2 separate regions of the Homo sapiens genome follow, and region 2 is linked to region 1. The links are contacts of gene promoters, found by promoter capture Hi-C in human tissues and cell types (Jung and others, 2019). All regions are on one chromosome and are shown on one strand. The core of a region is centred on a gene start or on the middle of the fragment in contact, and the rest is flanking DNA. Distances in the headings are between cores, read along the strand shown.

Region 1 (3,595 bases), core at 779-3,278:
CTGGAGAATTCATTTAGAAGCATAAGCATAATAAGGGCACAGTGAAATCTAAGTTTGGTTCTCCATTATAGCTGTGGTCCTAATGAATTGTGGGCCCATCCTGAATTAATAATTCTCCAATAAAAATGATAATCAAAGAATTTAAACCATTGATACAGTTCCCTTGTTGATATTAATCTGTTCATTAATATTACTTGGATCATATTTCCAAATTACAGAGTGTAATAGCATCTAATGCACTTTCATAGATCACAATTTTATTCTTTTGTTTCCCATTTTACAGTTAATCCTATGTAGCAGATATTAAGGAGGCACTAAGCACTCTTTGCTAACAAACTATCCATTTCTTTCATTTAAGTATTTAGCACTTAGTTAGCAAATGTGGACTTCTCACTTACTGATTTCTTGGTTTAAAAACTGTAGGTTCAGTATGGAACAAATGGATTTAGTAGCTCTTGAATATCTTTACACTGTAAACTTACTATTGATAACTTTTATTTCTTTAGAAGCAATATCTAAGTCCTAGGAATTCTGAGCCTGCTCATTATTGTTACCTCCCAAACTAGCGGAGTGTGATTCAGAACACAATAACATTATATTTTCTTTCCTCCTTCTCTTCCTCCTTTTAGAGAATACATGATAGGATGTTTTCAGCTTTCTAGCTTTCAACAGATGCAATGATCAAAGAGTCTGTCCCCCTCTGCTTTAATAAATGTGGAACATTCAACATTTGGCATATGAAGAGTAACTGGGTACATCTGAACTATTCTGTGCTCTTCATTCTGTTCCCTAAAGGGACAGATACAAAGAGAAATCACATAAACTATAATCCAGTTGAGTAGATTTAATTTCCTTTTCCTATTTGGTCTACATGCACCACCTGGTGGTAAAGTAGTGCATTTCACATAGAGAGAGAGAGAGAGAGAGAGAGAGTGTGTGTGTGTGTGTGTGCGCGCGCGCGCGCGTGCACGCGTGTGTGTTTTGAGGAGTATATAACATGAAAAAGATAATTTTAATATACTTTCTTAATACTGATTTAGATAGACAACACAATTATTCTACACCAAGAATCTAATACAACACTTGAGCACTACTTCATGTATAACAGAACAGGAAGTAAAGGAGAGAACTCATGCTGGAAAGTAAAATAGCTTTCACTTATTTACCTTAGCAATACATATTATAATTCCATCTCTAAATTAACATTTATTGTTCCAATATTCTTATTGAGGCAAAAATCAAACACTGATAATCAATGTGAAACCATTTCCTCCTTTTTAAAGAATAACAGCTTTTAAAAGTAGGTGCCCTGTTCCTTATATTAGTAGTGAGTATAAGTCACAGATCACAGAATTGTAAAGCACCATAGAGGCATTAGACCAATACACCAATTTTACAAATGTAGCAGCTGAGACTCTGGAACAGCAGGTAACTTGCCCGAAGTCATACTGGTCATTAGTGGTCCAACACAAATAAGAATCTAGATCTTCTCACTTTCAGCCTAGGAATATAATACATAAAAATTGTACTTATATTCATATTCAATGAATTGTCTCTGTATGATGTGATAATATTCAACTTATCTACACAGTGCTTTAAGGCACTCATATGTTAGTTAACACATACCAGTTTTGTTCTAACATTCTGAGCACAAAGAAGTAATTGAAGAAATGCATGTATCATAAAGCTATGGAAAAGATTTTCTAAGTATTAAAAAACCCTATATATATGTTCAAATGAATAATTTTCCAAGTATAATACAACTGCTATATTGCAAAGAAGGTTTAAAAAATTCCCTTTCCCCTTCTAACTGCTTCAGAACCAGAGATCTGTTTCTACAAAGTAGGTACCCACTTGTAGATTTAAGCATAAAACATGTTCATAGCTCCCTCTCATGACCATTGAATACTATACAAGCCTCCTTTTATTCTCGCTGTTGTATTCAACTAACAGCTCACTGGCTAAGTTTTAATTGCTTCCAATGAGGTCAGCAAAGGTATTTATCGAAAAGCCCTGAATAAAAGGCTCACACACACACACAAGCACACACGCGCTCACACACAGAGAGAAAATCCTTCTGCCTGTTGATTTATGGAAACAATTATGATTCTGCTGGAGAACTTTTCAGCTGAGAAATAGTTTGTAGCTACAGTAGAAAGGCTCAAGTTGCACCAGGCAGACAACAGACATGGAATTCTTATATATCCAGCTGTTAGCAACAAAACAAGTAAGTTACTGTTATTTGTCTTTTAAAACAATGCTGAATGTTTTCTAAAAGTTTATCTCTTTTTCTGATTTTAGTACTGAGCAGGAAAGTAAAGTTACAAGATTTTTGAGCCATGTAACTATAGTAATTATGCTGTAGAACATAAAGATAAGGTTGAAGTTCTCCAGAGCAATCCTGACATTTAACTTAAAAAACCTGGGCAGTTCAGGAGAAAATAATTGATTAACCACAAATGTAAAAGCATATAATAAAGAAGTCTAGGGAGAAAGCAGTTACACTTTGTTAGCAGTAATTGTAAAAACTTAATTTAAATCAATAGTTCTGAGTGCAGTATGGTTCTCACAAAATAGCAATTGGAATGAATGGTACAGTCATATTCTGTTTTGTCTCTACTCATGCATAAATTTTATAAATCTACACATAAAGTGGTAAAGATTTTGACATCCTCTGTGAAGGCTGTTTTAAATGTATCTTCAAAGAATAACCTATACTGTATTCTAATGCTACTACTTACCCACTAAAATTTACACATACAATTTTTTATCTTCCTCTCTCCTCCCCTCCCTATTCTTAATCTCTCATTGCAAACAGAAGTCAAATAGCAAACAGCGTCACAGCAACTGAACTTACTACGAACTGTTTTTATGAGGATTTATCAACAGAGTTATTTAAGGAGGAATCCTGTGTTGTTATCAGGAACTAAAAGGATAAGGCTAACAATTTGGAAAGAGCAACTACTCTTTCTTAAATCAATCTACAATTCACAGATAGGAAGAGGTCAATGACCTAGGAGTAACAATCAACTCAAGATTCATTTTCATTATGTTATTCATGAACACCCGGAGCACTACACTATAATGCACAAATGGATACTGACATGGATCCTGCCAACTTTGCTCTACAGATCATGCTTTCACATTATCTGTCTAGTGGGTACTATATCTTTAGCTTGCAATGACATGACTCCAGAGCAAATGGCTACAAATGTGAACTGTTCCAGCCCTGAGCGACACACAAGAAGTTATGATTACATGGAAGGAGGGGATATAAGAGTGAGAAGACTCTTCTGTCGAACACAGTGGTACCTGAGGATCGATAAAAGAGGCAAAGTAAAAGGGACCCAAGAGATGAAGAATAATTACAGTAAGTAATTTTAAGTACTGCTCATGAACCTTAGCAATCTGTTAATGGATCAATTTTCAGGTGATATGTTTTCTCATCTTCCTTTTGCTTCTTGGAAAAAAAATTAAATAAAATGTCACCTAATTTCTCTAAATTGAACTATGTTGAACTATGCCCCTAAAAATATCTCTTTTAACAGGGCAAATCTACTTACATTATAGTTGGACCTGATAATCCAAGCCAATT
Region 2 (3,595 bases), core at 357-2,856, 500 kb after region 1:
AAATGGCGTACAAAATTTAGTGCTTAATTTAAAAAAATATAAAAACCAAAATACAATGTTACCCTCCCCTCTACCCCAGTCTACACTTATCTATTCTAGTTTCCTCCTGGCTTACATAGATCTAATAACATACCCTGGAAGCTTTTTAGGACTGGGCCTTGTCTAGGTCTTGTCTTCTGTTTTAAGACCCTTGGTTAGCTTGCCTAATTGCCAGAACTCATGTGGGTTTTCTTGTACTCTAGCTCTAACCCCTACATTGGGGAAAAAGAAAGAGAAAAACATATGCAATTTATCTAATTGTTAAACCAGGGGGGGAAACTTAATCCTAGGAAAGACTCTCTCTTGATTTTCTTGTACAATAATCCAATTGAATAATTTCCCTTATATTTTCTCCCTTCCAACACCAGAGGTATAAAGGCAAACGATGAATAACCTACATTTGCCTGTATTTTGTATTCTAGACTAGGACATTAGTTCTCTAACTTATGGTCTCAGGACCTTCTTTATAATTTTTCAATGCTGAGTGAGGATTCTAAAAAGTTTTTTTAAGTGAATGTTATCTATCAATATCCATATTAGAAATTAAAAATGAGAAATTTTATTATATCAGTTTTATAACACTAGTTACTATAATTATTATTATTGTAAATCTAACATATAAGCATAAATAACATTTCTATAAAAAAACTATATTTTCCAAAAAATATTAGTTTGGAGATTGGCATTATTTTACATGATTACAGATCTTTGTAACATCTAGTTTAATAAAAGAGGGTTGGATTCCCATATCTGTTTCTGCATTCATTCTGTTGTGACATCACATGTCACGTGGCTTCTGCAAAACTCCATGGTATACTCATGAGAAAAAGAATGAAAAAGATAAATAATAGTGATATTATAATGAAAATACTTTTGTCCTTGTGCATCCTCTGAAAAACTCACAAAGTTCCCTAAGGTTCCCTGGACCACACATTTAGAATCACTGGTCTGGAAGAATCACAAACTGATTGTGATTTGTGTAAATCCCTTACCATCACTGTATCTTAGTTTCTACATGTAAAAAGGAGATGTTTAAACAATCTAACTTCAAAGGTCCTTTGCAGCAGTACAATTTTCTGATTCAATAAATACTTTCCATCCCTGATACTTTCCCTTAACCTAGTATTTGTCCCTTTAAATTTGATTTTGTGGAAATCCAATTTCATGGAATCCTGCTTATGTTTACTCATTAAACATTTGCTTTAGCAGCAAGTTTTATATCTCTTTTCTTCCAAGCCTTCTGGTCGTTTCTGTTCAAAGTTAATAAAATCTAAGTCATTTCAGAAGTTAGTATTTCTTAAATAAACTAAAAAGGACATAGTTTTAAATGGTCACGATAACATATGGCCAGAACTTGGACAAAGGTTACAGTTTTTAGGTTATAAAATCTTCTCCCAATGCTTTCCATTTAAATATTAGTGTTCTTCAGAGATTTACTTGGGGTCTTTTTTTTATCTTCCCATCCTTCATACTGTCCCTGGGCAACTGCATCATTTCTATGGCTTCAGGTTCCAACACCAGGCTGTTTTCAAATGTGTATCTCCTGTCCAATCCATCTCTAGCACTCCATTCTGACCTGCACATCCGACTACCAGTTGAAAATCTCTTGGATATGCTCAAGCACACCAAACTCATACTGGACATATTACCCTCCTCCAATAATTAGCTACTCCTCTTATATCCCCAGTCTTAGTAATCAGCTTCACCATCCATTCAGTCTCCCAAATCAGAAATCTAGGCATCACTCACAGTTCTCCCTTCACCAACCATACATCTAAGGGAAGCTACGGATTTCTCTTGCCACTTCTCTCTTGCCTAGAAAATCACTTTAACCTAACTGGTTTTACCCATTCCAGTACTGCTTCCTTCCAGACTCTTCTGTATATTCCAGTTACAGTCATCTTCATGCTGCTGCTTAGAATCCTGCAATAGCTTCCCTCTCCCTTCTATTAAGTTTGGACTCCTTGACATGACATATAGAGCTTATTAACAGCTGCACTATCCAGTCTGTTTTACCATGTTCTCTTGGAGGCAGCCACATAGAACTACCTTTCAACTTTTCACATTCTCCCTTAGCTTGAAGGCCCTGGAACATATGGGGAACTTAAATCAATATTTACTTAATTAAGATGAACCAAAATTGTGCACAATTTATTGAAAGCAGAAGCTATGCCTTTGTGACATAAAGGAAAGAAAAAATGTCACAAATGGCTTCCAGTTAGATGCAACAGCAGCACTGTGAAGGGTGGTAAATAATTCTATTTTGCCATATCGCCGCTGTTCATACATCTACACAGAGAAATGCCTGTCACATGACAGTGTGATTTGTACTTTGATAATCTTGAAAAAGTTTAGAGTTGAGCAACTTTTATCTAAAGATCTCGTAAGAGCCTTCCAAGAAGCTTCTTGTAATTTCTTCTTCTTTAATGGTTATCTGCCACTTGCCCCTGTTAATAGCCACCTCTGAATTTTATCTCTGTATTTCTATTTACAGAATTAGTAGAATTGGTCCTTCCAAAACTATATAATGTCATTTATATTTTTTACTAATATAGTATATTCTGTTCCCTCTGGAAAAAAATCCTTTATAGAAATCAATTTTTATGTAGATACTTCTGACTTAAATCAGGGCTCTTTCTTCAGAATGAAAGTACTACTGGTATTGAAATTATACATTGATGATTTAGTGAATAATGGCTGCCACCCAAAAACAAGGAAGCAGAAGAGGGAGGAGGAGAAAGGGGAGGATCAGCAGCAACAGAAGCAATGCCTGAGCCTTTGCATCAGGGTGTTGTTCCTACAGACCAACCCATGTGACGATCATGAGACCAGGATTGTTTTCTGCCTTGTTATCATGCAAAGACTTTTCTGCCCTGGTAGAGTCCCTCTAAAAATCCTCCTGATTAAAAACCAAGCAGAATAAAAATAAATCCAGCAAACCTTCATGCATTCTGTGGTAGAGCACTACCTTTCCTCATATGGGATCCATTAAGGCAAACATCTGATGTTTGTGGTTAGGCTGCAATTTCTCCACAGCCTGTAATGGTGACCAATGCTGAGGAAAAGCCAAACATCTCCCTGTGTAGCAATTTTAGGTTTTTGTCAACACCCTCAGAGCAAAAAGAAACCAACTCTGGGCCAAACCAACATCAATAACACCTTCCCTGAGGCTGTAAATAGAAGATAGCTCCTGCTGATACAACATTAAGCCAACACCTAGAACGGCATGTGTGCTCATCAGTGGCACTGGTGATGACTTCCCTGTTGTCAAAACATAAAAATAAAAATAAACATTCTCAGATGTTATTTGGTTTTTACCTGCTGAGAGCCATCTTTCAAGGCTAGTTTCTAGTAGTTAGAGACCAAAAACCCTACTGTTACGTATAAACACTTTTTAAATAGTAAGAAATTGATTAAATACCATGAGTAGGATATTCATAATTTACAAAGTGCTGGGTTGAGTAGTATTTCATAAACATTTATAGAAAACTTATCATGTGCCAAGCTCTGTGCTTTGCCTTGGGCAGTTTAGGAAGACTAAGGTACAGCACTTGCC

The links. The method cuts DNA at HindIII sites, captures the fragments that hold promoters and counts their contacts. A contact is called where the count stands out against the background at its distance.
Region 2: a contact is called between a fragment that was not itself captured here and the fragment with the promoter of FGF7 in region 1, in 1 of the 25 tissues and cell types used here (dorsolateral prefrontal cortex).

The regions. Positions count from the first base shown.
Region 1 is chr15:49,421,214-49,424,808 of GRCh38, forward strand. It overlaps FGF7 (fibroblast growth factor 7), which reads left to right and starts at 2,029. Exons shown (of 4, transcript NM_002009.4): 1 at 2,029-2,227; 2 at 2,819-3,370. The coding sequence starts at 3,085. The region is part of intron 11 of FAM227B (family with sequence similarity 227 member B); the gene reads right to left. The HindIII fragment of the contact is 10,247 bases long and covers 1-3,595 here.
Region 2 is chr15:49,924,557-49,928,151 of GRCh38, forward strand. The region is part of intron 16 of ATP8B4 (ATPase phospholipid transporting 8B4 (putative)); the gene reads right to left. Among named protein-coding and RNA genes, the nearest start is that of ATP8B4, 190 kb to the right of the region's middle. The HindIII fragment of the contact is 3,396 bases long and covers 1-3,304 here.